Regions from separate parts of the Homo sapiens genome. Here region 2 is linked to region 1. The links are contacts of gene promoters, found by promoter capture Hi-C in blood cells and fetal thymus (Javierre and others, 2016). All regions are on one chromosome and are shown on one strand. Each heading gives the region's core, a stretch centred on a gene start or on the middle of the fragment in contact. The rest is flanking DNA. Distances are from core to core; before and after follow the strand shown. Region 1 holds the start of GPR87 (G protein-coupled receptor 87). Region 2 overlaps MBNL1 (muscleblind like splicing regulator 1).

Region 1 (6,866 bases), core at 1,454-3,953:
AGTTTTCTGGTGGCCGACACACACACACACACACACACACACACACACACACACGCACACACACACACACACCTGGATGTTCTGTATTTAAAATAAATTTGGGGTTTGTAATGGCTAAACAAAATTAATAAAAGAGTGCCCTGCATTTAACAGGATTTTCCAATGAAGTGGAAAGGAAATTATCGCTATGAAGATTCCCGGGGCTTTTATGAAATGTGAGACTTGCTATAAAAACCAGCAGGAAAAAAATTATGCTGGTTTACCTTTCGATTATGTGAACAATAATAAAGCTATGGGCTGGCTGTTAGCTGCTCTTTGCATCAAAGTGTTACACTTTTTTCATGACTAAACATGTATTACTTCCCTTTTGGAATGTTAGGTAAGACCAGCTTTCACAAGTCCCAACTTGAGACTGGCATAATATACTTTAAGACTAACGCATAAAGGCTGCCTTGCGTTAACTTTTTTGTTACTATACTAAATTTGCGCTGCCAGCCAACGAAACACTGAAACACTCCAAGCCAGCTGTTAGGCTACCGTCCCGGGCACGTTGCTTACAGAGGTATTGGGAAAGGAAAAAGTGCATCCTATCCCAAGCCCACTTCAGGAGAAAAAGGGGGCCACCTACTGTAGTGAAGGGACATCACCTTATTTCCTACTTAACACCATCACACATAAAGTTAAAGATGCTTCATTATACAGGAAAATTTCATAGGCCCCTCACAAGCCCTTCTTCGCACTTAGAAGGGCCTATGATAACCCTTTCACAGTAGGGCCCTCTCTTTTTTTTAAAAGGTCTTTATTCTTATAACAGAAGCCTGTCAAATATCTGTCAGAATAAGCTCCCTACTAAGATTTTATACACATCACTGGAAATTTGGGGTGATAATCCTCAGTACTTGCAGCAAAGTTCTTTGCACAACATACTTTTATGGGGGCCATAAGAGATGCTTCTCCCTTTGACTGATGCCTTTAGTACTTAACAGTTAGTTGTTCTGGCAGTAAAATGTCAAATTATGAGCAGTACCTCATTTATTATTTATGAATCATCATGAAAAAATGGCAAAAAGGTCAACACAAGGACAAATCTCCCAAACTAAAGTCTGCATAGCATAACCCTTCTGCTCAAAATACAACAAACTGGTTTCAAAAAAAAAAAAAGAAGAAAAGAAAAGAAACTGGCTTCAAATGCTAAATCAATGGGGAAGTATAAAATAGCACAGAGAGAGTCAAAACTAAATGAAGGATTGTTTGTAAATCTGCAAATTCTTAAAAGATTAGGCCATTATTAAGTTGGCTAATTGTTATTCAAACACCTTCCCCAGGACTAGCTACTTTTCCGTAACATACTTAATCCACCCAAAGCAGAATGTAAAAAAAAAAAAAATTAAAATTGTAGGTGTCTGTTTTTGTATGGTTAGGAAGCAGATAGGAAAATACAAAAAATATAATTTTGATACCCAACTCTTGATTTTTAAGTTAAACACCCATTTGTTTTTCTGTAAAAACATAAGGAAAATCAACTAGTACGTACACATTATTTCCTTAAGACACAAGTAAACACTAAGTAATACCTATTATAGATTTATTCACTCCAAAAAAGTTTTCACCTTTGATTATTTTCATTTATCTTCATCCACAATAACAGGTTTTGATTCCATTTGATGAAATTTTATTTTTTTAAATGTATTTAAATGTTGCATTCAAGAAAATATCAGAATCTTTGAGATTCTCATCTGAAAGCAAGAAAATTATTTACAAATCAGAAAAAGTGGCCGGGCGCAGTGGCTCACACATGTAATCCCAGCACTTTGGGAGGCTGAGGCGGGCGGATCATGAGGTCAGGAGTTCAGGACCAGCCTGGCCAACATAGAGAAACCCCGTCTCTACTAAAAATACAAAAAATTAGCCGGGTGTAGTCGTGGGCACCTGTAATCCTACCTACTCAGGAGGCTGAGGCAGGAGAATCACTTGAATCCGGGAGGTGGAGGTTGCAGCAAGCTGAGATCATGCCACTGCATACCAGCCCGGGCAACAGTGTGAGACTCCGTCTCACAAAAAAAAAAAAAAAAAAAAAAAAAAAAAAGTGATATGATTATATAAATTTGTCATTGTTGGATGCTTTTTTAAAGCAATAAAATAAATTGTTTTATGTTAAAGGTCAGCATTCAAAGGAGTCAGTGAACCCAGCCCCTGAATAATTTAACATATTTTGAATACTTATCATTGTGTATGTGTAAAAATATGTCTATTGTGTATGTGTAAAAATATGTCTACAGATTTCATTAGTTTCATAAGACTACAAGTTTCCAAAGTTATCAATTACAACAATACTCTTTAAATAATATGTAGAATAATATTTTCAAAGAATTCATCTGTCATAAAGCATATTCTTATTTCTTTTAATCCAAAATTTAATTGGCAGGAAGGCTGCAAATACATGTTTTCTAGATAGCAATAGGAGGCTGGAAAAAAAAAATGACCTAAAAATTGGATCTGATGAGTTAGTAGGCCCCAACCCGAGACTTCATCCCCCACTCCTTAAGCAGACTTCTGGCAGTCTAAGCTCCAGCCCTCTGTGTTTCCTTCAGGTGAATCACCATCTGATTCCTGCAGGTTCAGGAAATACTCTTCCCCAGTCGACAAATCTCACCTACTCTTAGTTATGAGTCATTTACATTAGCAAGAGAGCAAGTTGTTCCAGTAGTCGCCTGGCAGGAGAATTTGAAAGGGTGCCCCAAAGGACAATCTCTAAAGGGGTAAGGGAGATACCTACCTTGTCTGGTAGGGGAGATGTTTCGTTTTCATGCTTTACCAGAAAATCCACTTCCCTGCCGACCTTAGTTTCAAAGCTTATTCTTAATTAGAGACAAGAAACCTGTTTCAACTTGAAGACACCGTATGAGGTGAATGGACAGCCAGCCACCACAATGAAAGGTAAACGAAAAATTTTTCATTTTCTTAAAAGCCGTGGTTGATAAGACACAGCAATGATTAAAAACTGTAATTATACTTCTGCTTAACTCTGAGGTTTGAAGAAAAACTAGAAATTAGAATGCTGACAGTAAGATATGAGGCACCACTGTGAGCCATGAAGCTTCAACTGTTTCCAGCTCAGGCAGGCAGAAATATAAACTACATATTGTGCCTTCAAAAGTAGAAACAATGTTTTGGCAATCACTCCTATTTAGTACATTTTTTTTTAAACCACATTTACTTTATTAGATGAGTAAAAGTCAAAGTCTCTTATAATTGTTTCCCAGGACCCAAAACTTAAAATTTGTTTCATAATCGTTTATCCGTATTGTTTTTTTTTAAAGAGAGAGACAAAGATTTTTCTCTTTCCCAACTGTCTCATTTTGATAAAATAATCTCAGTCTTTTCATTGTACCACAAAGAACAGGGCAATCCTCATTCTGATCCCTGGAGAAGTCATGTTAAAACATGTCAGGAAAGGCACTGAGAAAACTGCCCAGTGACTGACAAACAGGTTAGGAACAGCTTACTGTTGTTCCACATTCAAACTGTTTGGGAAGTTTTCACTGCAATGAGGAAAACAAGAAGCAAGCATGGAGATCTCAGTTCTTTTAAATTTTAATAAGGACTTTTAAAAGATAGATGAGCCTAAAGTAGAGTGACTTTTTGATTTCTTATTTTAAGATTTATCTGCTATGGAATTTTACATCACATTCTCAAGTTGAATCTGCTTTTATTTTAGGTATATTAACATTTTTAACAAGAGATTTCTTTCATAATTGTTCTCCAATTTACTAGCAATATGAACAGCAACAAATCTGGTTCTATATTACTTTATACTGGGGGGAAAAAAGCCAGACACCCTGTTGATATTTATTATTTCTGCCAATTGAGATTAACTGTCTCCATGAAGTTAGGGATCAAAGAGGCATATTCTCTTAATCCTTCAGCAACATCTCATCCTCAGACTCTTGTTTCTGACCTCTACTTGAAATGTGTTGCAGGTATACATGGGTTAAGGACAAGGGCCTAGAAGAGCAGATGGATGGCTGAATTTCATATTTAAGGATACAGCCTATAAAAAGAAAGTATCCCGCCAGAAAATCTTTATTTCATGAAGACACTGAGAAAATGCCCTAACCAGAGATAACATGCTAAGAGGATTTACTGCATTCAGAGATGTGGGTGGGAAAAGGAAGACTAAGTTAAAAGGAATGTTCTTATTTAGAGTTGTGCTGTTTGTGCTCTTCAGAGTCTGCCTGCTTTTCTTCCTTAATATCTTGGCATTTAACTCTCTTTAAGAACCACAACAACAAAATATTTCACGCTTAGCTCTTTACTCTGAGAAAATACCAAGGAAAGTTAAGATAGAGGAGACCACAATGGCCATTAGTTCCTTGTATGCTCCTGAAATAAGAAAAGCCTGGAAAATCCATGAAAATCCCTCAAAGCCCAATAAAGGGTAAGGTTGTGAAGACAGGACAGAAGTGAGGTGAAATCTACGTAAAGTCACCTCCCTAGAAGCATCCCCCAGTCTCCAGGGTAGATGTTCTCTATGCAGGCAAGAGGCAGTAGTTTGGGTTTAAAGTAGAAAGCCCAGGACTCACAGCAAAATGACCTGGGTTTAAGGGCTGATTGTACCAAATATTATCAGTGTGACTTAGGCAAGTCTCTGAATTCCCCAGGAGCTCACTTCCCTTCCTCACAGGTAAAATGAAGGGATTAGATCAGAGGGTCATTAGAGGCCCCTTGCATCTCTAGATTCCCACGATCCAGGTGATATGCTGAGACGCTGGGGTTGGTAATGAAAGAACCCAAGGCTTGGACCAAGCACACAGGAATGCTTGAGAGGAAATGGGGTAGAGCCACAAATGAGGACCTTCCCAATTCTGCCCCTAGCCAGCTACGTGATGTTAATCAAATCTCGACTTCGCTAGGTCTCAGATTCTTCCTCTACAAGATGAAGATGAATGTACTATTTGCTCTTCCTACCTGGCTGAAAGTTTTGCATTAATACAAGTATTAATACAAGTGCCAGCTGCAGTTCTTATACTTGTAACTATCTAAAGCAGGGAGGCAAGAGCAGAAGCAAATGCAAGGTGACCCTGCTGTTAAAAACTAGATGAGATGCACCCACCTCTCAGACCTTCTGCTTCAGGCCAATGGTGAAAGACAGGTTCTTTCTGACCTTACAAATATTACGAAATCCTCTCCCTCCTTATATGGCAAACACAGGCAGAATAGAATATTTGTTCTCTATCTTGTACCTAATTAACATATTTTGTTTCATTAATATTATTATTGGCCAAACATTTAAAAAATTACACTAAAATACATTTAAGCGAGAGCACTGATTAAGTTCCATTTAGTGTAAGCCATGACATTAAGTCATTTATATCAATGATTCTATAGTTTCTCTTAAACAGTAATTTCTAATGATTTCCATCATTTTAAAAGAAGAGCAAAGCTCCTTAAATGACCTTTTCTAATGTACTAGATAGGATCCGTATGGCACAAACTGTCCTTCTATCCTTAATACTAAAACAACAATAATTAGCATATACATCTAGCTTGATATGTGACAAGATTACTGCATATTTTATCATGCAATTTTTTTTTTTTTTGAGACGGAGTCTCGCTCTGTCACCAGGTTGGAGTGCAGTCGCGTGATCTTTGCTCACTGCAACCTCTGCCTCCTGCGTTCAAGCGATTCTCCTGCCTCAGCCTCCCAAGTGGCTGGGATTATAGGCGCCCACCACCATGTAACCTCTGCCTCCTGGGTTCAAGCAATTCTCCTGCCTCAGACTCCTAAGTGGCTGGGATTATAGGCGCCCACGACCATGCCCAGCTAATTTTTGTATTTTTAGTAGAGACGGGGTTTCACCATGTTGGCCAGGATGGTCTCAATCTCTTGACCCGGTGATCCACCCATCTCGGCCTCCCAAAGTGCTGGGATTACAGGTGTGAGCCACCGCACCTGGCCTTATCATGCATTTTTTTTTTTAACTCAGACAACCTTAAGGTATAAATTACTATTATCCACTTTTACAGCTGAGCAAACTGAGGCTTAACAAGCATAACAGTAGGGAGCACAGCTCTGACCTTGAACCACTGCCCACAGTCAACCACGCTGTATTTGCTGTTACCTCTTTTTGTGGGTAGTTTCATATGTAAAATGATATAGACTTATTGTATATTTACCATATACTAGTACCATAGTATAGACTACAGTAGATAAATGGCCAACTTGGGTGCATGATCCCCTGCAATCAAGTTGGAGCTATTTTAACTTGGTAGTTTTCCCAAAGGAGGCATCAGGTGCTAATCAGCACATGAATACCAAACTTCTGTGCAGGCAGTAGCAGAGCGGTAGTTAGGAGCACAGCACTGAGATGGGCTTACGTTCTGTTCAAATCCAGGCTCTGCCCCTCATTAGTGGTGTTAATGAGGGCAAGCTCTAGCACTCCAGCGACAGCACATATCTGCTCAAAGAACAAATAACATGTGCAAATAGCCCAAGTATATTGTATTCCAAGTATTCTCTCTAAGCCTCAGGTTTTTTCATCTGAAAAACTAGAGTACTAATTCTTACTACCCACTCAAGTAGCATGTCAATACTGAGTTATTACTACATGTCAAGTTTGAATAAAAGGTCTATGCTATGGTAATACTTCATTCAAAACAATCTTATGAGGGCTGTTTTACAGAAGAAGGCGGCACAGAGGGGTTGGGTAACCTGCCCAAGTAAGTGGCAAACCTGTAATGTGAATCCAAAGTCCTTTTAATAAATTAAAATATACATAGGTAATTTAGAACACTTCTAGGCACACAATAATACTAGCCAGCATTTGGGGAGCTCTTTTACTGTTGTTGTATGTAGCAAGATAGAC
Region 2 (6,866 bases), core at 2,715-5,214, 1.1 Mb before region 1:
TTTAAGGAAAGATTAAAGAAGATTACCATGAAAGGACCAAGAAATACTTTAAATAGATTCAAGTAAAGTTTACAGATTATCAGCGCTTTATTATTTATGCTTAAAACATAGATAAAGAAAATGTGGCACATATACACCATGGAATACTATGCAGCCATAAAAAAGGATGAGTTCATGTCCTTTGCAGGGACATGGATGAAGCTGGAAATCATCATTCTCAGCAAACTAACACAGGAAGAGAAAACCAAACACTGCACATTCTCAAGTGTAAGTAGGAGTTGAACAATCAGAACACATGGACGAAGGGAGGGGAAAATCACACACCAGGGCCTGTCAGGGGTAGGGGTGCTAGCAGAGGGACAGCATCAGGAGAAATACCTAATGTAGGTGACGGGTTGATGGGTGCAGCAAACCACCATGGCATGTGTACATCTATGTAACAAACCTGCACATTCTGCACATGTATCCCAGAACTTAAAGTATAATAATAATAATAAACATATTCTCAATCATTTGAAACCTAACAAGTCTTAGAATGGAATGCCAATGTTCTTATCTCCAAGATTTTTTTAAGCTGGGGAAACTTTCAGATTAGACAATCCATTTTGGCAGTACATCACATCCTATTACATGTGCCAACAGGATTGCATTATTATATTTTCTCTTTGTATTGTCCAGCCAGCTTACTACTTACCATGAGTGTATTTCTGTCCTTTTTTCCTTTTGTTGTTTTCCCAATGTTACACTTAGGAACATGCTATACCCCCATGAGTTTTTCTTTAATGTATTTCTATGGGTCCACCATGGAAAAGAAATTGTTAATTCATACAGACCATTTCTTGTACTTCATTTATACTAAATACTGTTCGAGCAATTGAAAAGATGGTTCATTACAATAAACAGGTAATCCCCAAACTTTTTTGAGAATCTTAATTTATCTCTGTTATCTGACAACCTACCAAAAATCAAAACAAAAACAAACAAAAAACAGAAGAAAAGGTGGAATAGGGTCAAGGTAGGGCTGCAATAAAGCTTAATATAGGATATATTACAGAAAATAGATGAATGTTAATATGAAGTGCGCTGTGAAACCAGGGTGGAAAAAATGCAGAGGAAAGACAGACTAGGAGTGGAGCACTTTCAAAGCAGATTCAATTAACCTGAAATGATGATATGAGTAAATGTACTAACTACATTATGCCAATGAGGAAATTAAAGCTCAGAGAGGTGAAAGGATTTGCCTAAGATCACACAGTAGCAAATCAGGTCTGATATCAAGTCTGAGCATTATGTCTTCTATAACAGTGGTCCCCAACCTTTTTGGCACCAGGGATCAGCCTCGTGGAAGACAATTCTTCCCTGGACTGGTGGTGGTGGAGTGGCGGATGGTTTGGGGATGATTCAAGTACATTACATTTATTATGCACTTTATTTCTATTATTATTACATTGTAATATATAATAAAATAATTATAACACTCACCATAATGTAGAATCAGTGGGAGCCCTGAGCTTGTTTTCCTGCAACTAGATGGTCCTATCTGGGGGTGACAGGAGACAGTGACTGATCATCAGGCATTAGATTCTCATAAAGCGTCTCCAACCTAGATCCCCTGCATGCACAGTTCACAATAGGGTTCACACTCCTATGAGAATCCAACACGTTGTCACTGATCTGACAGGAGGCAGAACTCAGGTGGTAATGCCAGCAATGCGGAGCAGCTGTAAATAGAGATGAAGCTTCATCCACTCATCAGCCACTCACCTCCTGCTGTGCAGCCCAGGGTTGGGGACCTCTCCTCTATAACACAGCTGACTTCCCAGGAATTAAAAAAGCCAGGAGGGCCTGATAGGTAAAATGGCAGTAACTAAAACCACACAGGTGTGAACATTCCCGCTAGGCAACAGACAGTGGCTAAAGCAATCTGTTTGGGGTAAAGGCTTTGTTCAGGGGAGGTTAAGTTCAGAGTTAATGCAAGAGTTAAGTGAAAGTAACGTCAAATGCCAGGTTAAGAACTCTAAAATACAAGCAAAGATAATCCATCCATCCAATGCTCTTGCTGAGGCCTACTTGAATTTCAGGAAGACACTCCTTAGTGAAGATGACCTAAGAATACAGAAAGACTGCGCTCATTAAGAGAAGTCAAGAGTAATGACTGATTGTCTGGTTATATAGGACCTAAAAATCCAAGACAAAACAGCTGCCTAAATTGTTCAAGTGGGGTGGCAAGATAAGCTAGCACACAAATGTCTTCTGTGAAATATAGCACCAAAATGCTTGAGAAGAAAAAACAGACAAATATTAATTAGGACTATCATTTGATAAACAGCGCAACAGTTGGCCTGCATTTTATTTAAACAAAAAGTTTAAAATAATTTATATTATGCCACAAAATAATGAAAATGTACTAGTCACTCCGTTAACCTTGAAGCAATAACATGTCTGCTACAAAATCTTAAACTTTAAAAATATTTCTCACAGGATAAAAACTACTTATCCATATTTTTGTTTTATAGACTGTGAATATAATAATTAAATAAAAGCTGAAGGCCGGGCACGGTAGCTCACACCTGTAATCCCAGCACTTTGGGAGGCTGAGGCAGGTGGATCACGAGGTCAGGGGATCAAGACCATCCTGGCCAACATGGTGAAACCCGTCTCTACTAAAATACAAACAAAAATTAGCCTGGCGTGGTGGTGCATGTTTGTGGTCCCAGCTACTCGGGAGGCTGAGGCAGCAGAATCGCTTGAACCTGGGAGGTGGAGATTGCAGTGAGCCGAGATCGCTCCACTGCGCTCCACTCTGGCAATAGAGTGAGACTCCCTCTCGGGACAAAAAAAGAAAAATTAACTATGGATGATGAAGGGAGAAAATTACTATTTATTGTTTATGCTCTTCCAAGAGTACTGGACATAACACCCATCTAAAGGTCTCCCAGAGTCAGGCTCCATCTGACACCTGTCCCTGTTTATTTTCTGTATAGTACTTGTCATGCCTGTAATTATGTTGCTTATTTATGTGTTTATTTATCAACTAATTCCTGCACTAGGGAATAAGATCCATGAGGGCAGGCACCCTGTTTCACCTAGCTTAGAGTGTGCCACAGAGTGCTGAATAAAGGAAAGAGTAGATCTCACATAATTCTGTCAAGGATTCTATAGCACCAGTACTGTTACTCCCCACTTTGCTGACAAGGATTCAGACATCCTGTGAAATTAAATAATTTGTACAAGGTCACAGAACAATTAAGGTGTCAGAGACATCTGCATGAGGCATATGTACCGTATAAACAAATTTGGCAGGCTATATTCAGAACTAAAACAGTGTCAAACTGAAATTCAAATAGCTAGTGGTGTTTAAAAATGCAGCAATTAAGCAAACAGTCTGTGAAAGACTCTTCTCACTGTATATAAATAGTCAGACAGACTTCTTATAGCTTTAATCACAGTACACATTTAGTTAAAATATGTATTTCACACTAATTGACTATGACTATTTTGCAAATTATAAACAATGTTATCTGTTACCCTTTGGAAAAATTTGGTTTTGCCCTCAAAATATTACTGCTGTCTCAGAGATTCTCACTTTGGATGAAATTGTGAAGAAAATCTACCCAACAATCTTGGTTTTTAAAATGGTAGGTTCGTTTTGGAAAACCATGTAGGATGAACTGAATGTCAGTGATAAAAATAGATTTATAACTAAATTGGTTACTCTCAATAACCACTGGAATAGCTTAATAAATTAGGCACTATTTTTTCAGTATAGTTCTCAGAAAAAATTATTTAAAATAATTTCATATCTCCTACTAAAGGCGATAAAGAAATTACCTTTGAGAAAACAATTTCTACAAAGAACTAGTGAACTACATAATGCTGAAATTCACTGTGCCAACTATAGCTCACGCACAGGAAAGGGGAACATATATCCACAATGTGTTGTTAATACTCATATTTATCCATTAATAAATATATAAGGTATCTACTTGCTTATCATTATGCTGGGTGATGCAGGATAGAAAAAGAAATACAAAATGCAATTCCAACTGGTAAAGAAAGCTAGCTATAGAAGACATTAATGGAAGGTAACTTCATGAGAAACACTCTCAAGAAGAGGTACAAATAAAGCTGGGATACTAATAGTCAAACGATATTCCCTCAGACCTGAATCATATTTCACCGTAACATTCATTTCCTTAAGAAGGTAAGTCAATGGCTTTCTCACCCAGTGTTTCAGTACAGTTCCAGAGACTTTTAGCTCTTTGCTGCTATTCTTGGGTAGATTCAATGCTCAGAAAGTAAAAGGCCTAAAATTATCATGCCCATTAAAAGTTATCTGATACCTAGGATTAGTCTTGGATATCAAGAAATTCTCTAAGATAGACTGTAGCTGCAAGCTAATTTGTAGCTCTAACCTACATTCCAGATTTAAAAGCCATCAATGGCCAGGGGCCCTTTCTACTCCCAGTCTATTGGGAATACAATATCTATTTTCCAGCAGTTCAGGACTATCTAGAAAGCAGGTATTCATGGAAAAGGGATTTCAGGGAGGAATGACAGAAGTCAAGGAGACAGGCCAGGGAGGGCTGGGTGAGAGAACAGAGATGTTTATGTAAAGGAGTTCTGGTACCTTCCTATGGGAGGCATCTTGGCAAGAGATTCTGGGCTTCTTTTAGGAGGTACCTTGAAGCAATAAGATAGCAGCACTCTAGAAACTTAGGATCCAACGCAACAAATTGTACACCATTTTAAAAGCTAGAAAATTCAACTAGCCATCTGTACAAGCATGTTTTCCTGTTAAAAACAACAAAAAAAGAAGGCCTTTGGGATTTTCTACTCAGAATACTTCTCAGGAATATTTTTACATCTCATATAAAGTTTCCCTGACATTACTGCAAAAAACTGGGAGTAGCTACCTTTCAGAAGAACGTGTTTGTATTGCCAGAACATGGAATATTCTAAAAGGTGCTTTTGTAATATATCTTCCTTCTCTGTGTATATCTTACCCATCTGGAGACTATGGCTCACCCAGTTAAGGCTATTACATAATTTTGCCAAAGAGGATAAAAATAGAAAGGGGTTAAGGATAAATGTTAAAACAGACATGTATTATTCAAAATCTCAACATCAAGGCTTTGAATGTTTTGTTTTACTTCTTGTTGCTGCTTTTAAAAAGTAGAAATTCTGGGATAGCAGTTTATTCAAAGAGGAAGAAGTAGAATAAGTATGCTGATTTTCAAAAGCATTCCATTCATTTTTTGAGTTTTTAAAAAGCACATGAAATGTAAATATGTACAAAAGGCTCAATTTGTTTAACTCTGTCTCCCATTAACACCACTCCAATGGTTTTAATATCAATTTTAGTTCTGAATTTTTGTCTCAGAAATGAGCTCTGAAATTGATAATAAAAGTATTACAAAGAAATAAGTGAAATACACATTAACCTATGTGTAATGTTACCTAAGCAGGGGATTATATTTAAAAAAATATTAAGACCCATCTTCAGGTACTTCTTGCGGAGATTTCTGTTCATGTTGCACTACGTAAAGAGAAAAGTCTTTATGCCACTACTTACTATTTATAAATGTCAACTGCTTCTCTATAATGTAATCATACTTTTTTTTTTTGCACAAAATGACAGGACTTAATGATGAGCTCTGTATTTGAAACACATGTTCAGTAAAAGAAACGACAGTTTGCAATTTATTGATATTATAGAAACAAAGAAAGTGCCAATACTTTACTACCAATTCCCTGCAAACTCAGCCTTTCCCACCAAAAGAGAATTGGAATGCATTCATCAGAATTTTCAAAATGTGCTTCCCTGTTAGCCCTGTGAGATGGGGGTGGGTATGGGATAGACAGATTCAGCAAGCCAGAGGCAATTGAATGTACTTCTCAGTGCTTCCAACTGGGATGTCAGCACTTTACTAATCAAAGTTGCCTTTTCACCTCTCATGTATATTCTATTTTTCATCTTGAATTATACCAAGGTGTTTTCTATAGGAAATATCACTACAATAATGTCTCACATGTGTTTAGCAATATGCTGCACATGTCAGGCAGGAGCTAAATGCAGAGAATAAAGAAGCATGTAGAATTAAGCCCCCAACACTGTCAGCCTTCCTTCCAAAAGTTTTCTGGAGCTGTATGAAATACTGCTTCCCATGTGATTTTCAGGAAAGCTTTATGGACCAAGTTTTCAAATGCAAATAACAAGGTCAAAAGGAGGAAGGTTTATAGGTATGAAGAACTGGAAGAAAAAACGAAAACATAGAAAGAAGGTCATAAATTTGAAAGGTAGTGTCAAAAATCTGTGAACAGAAGTTTAAGCAGTTACATAACATCCGTCCTTGCTATGAAGATTTCATGGTTCAAACTTAGAATCATTATTCATTTTAGGTAAGGTTTTAATTTATCTAAGAAAGGGCAACTTAATGTGTAATATTATGCTGCAACATTCCTTTAAAACTGAAAAAGGAGAGAGTGCTTAATAGTAGGAACTCAAAAAGCAGAAAGATGTATTCAGGTTCAAATCCCAATTTTGCCATTTACCAGCCCTGCGGCCTTGTACATAGCACTTAATCCTCTAAACCTCTGTTTCTTCACCAATAAAATGGGAATAACTATACTATCTCCCTGATAAGGTTATATAAGAGGATTTAAATGAACATTTGTGTGAAGTCAATACCTAGCACCTAGAGAACACAGGTAGAGTATAGCTGTTGTTCTTATTTTAAGTTTATCTAGATTTGTTAAATGAAAGTTTTCTAGTCTCGCTCTCACATCACTGCACTTCAAAGGTTTTTGGGCATTGTTCTGGTTAAGCTGGGTCTTTCCACAAAGTGCTGCTCCTGCTCTGCTAC

The links. The method cuts DNA at HindIII sites, captures the fragments that hold promoters and counts their contacts. A CHiCAGO score of 5 or more calls a contact.
Region 2: a contact is called between a fragment that was not itself captured here and the fragment with the promoter of GPR87 in region 1, in 1 of 17 cell types (neutrophils). The highest score is 5.3, in neutrophils.

What each region holds. Positions count from the first base shown.
Region 1 is chr3:151,312,657-151,319,522 of GRCh38, reverse strand. GPR87 (G protein-coupled receptor 87) reads left to right here and starts at 2,703. Exons shown (of 3, transcript NM_023915.4): 1 at 2,703-2,937. The region is part of intron 16 of MED12L (mediator complex subunit 12L); the gene reads right to left. RefSeq lists an enhancer at 2,118-3,317. The HindIII fragment of the contact is 4,276 bases long and covers 1-2,854 here.
Region 2 is chr3:152,390,841-152,397,706 of GRCh38, reverse strand. All of the region lies in intron 2 of MBNL1 (muscleblind like splicing regulator 1), which reads right to left. Among named protein-coding and RNA genes, the nearest start is that of MBNL1-AS1, 120 kb to the right of the region's middle. The HindIII fragment of the contact is 4,446 bases long and covers 1,742-6,187 here.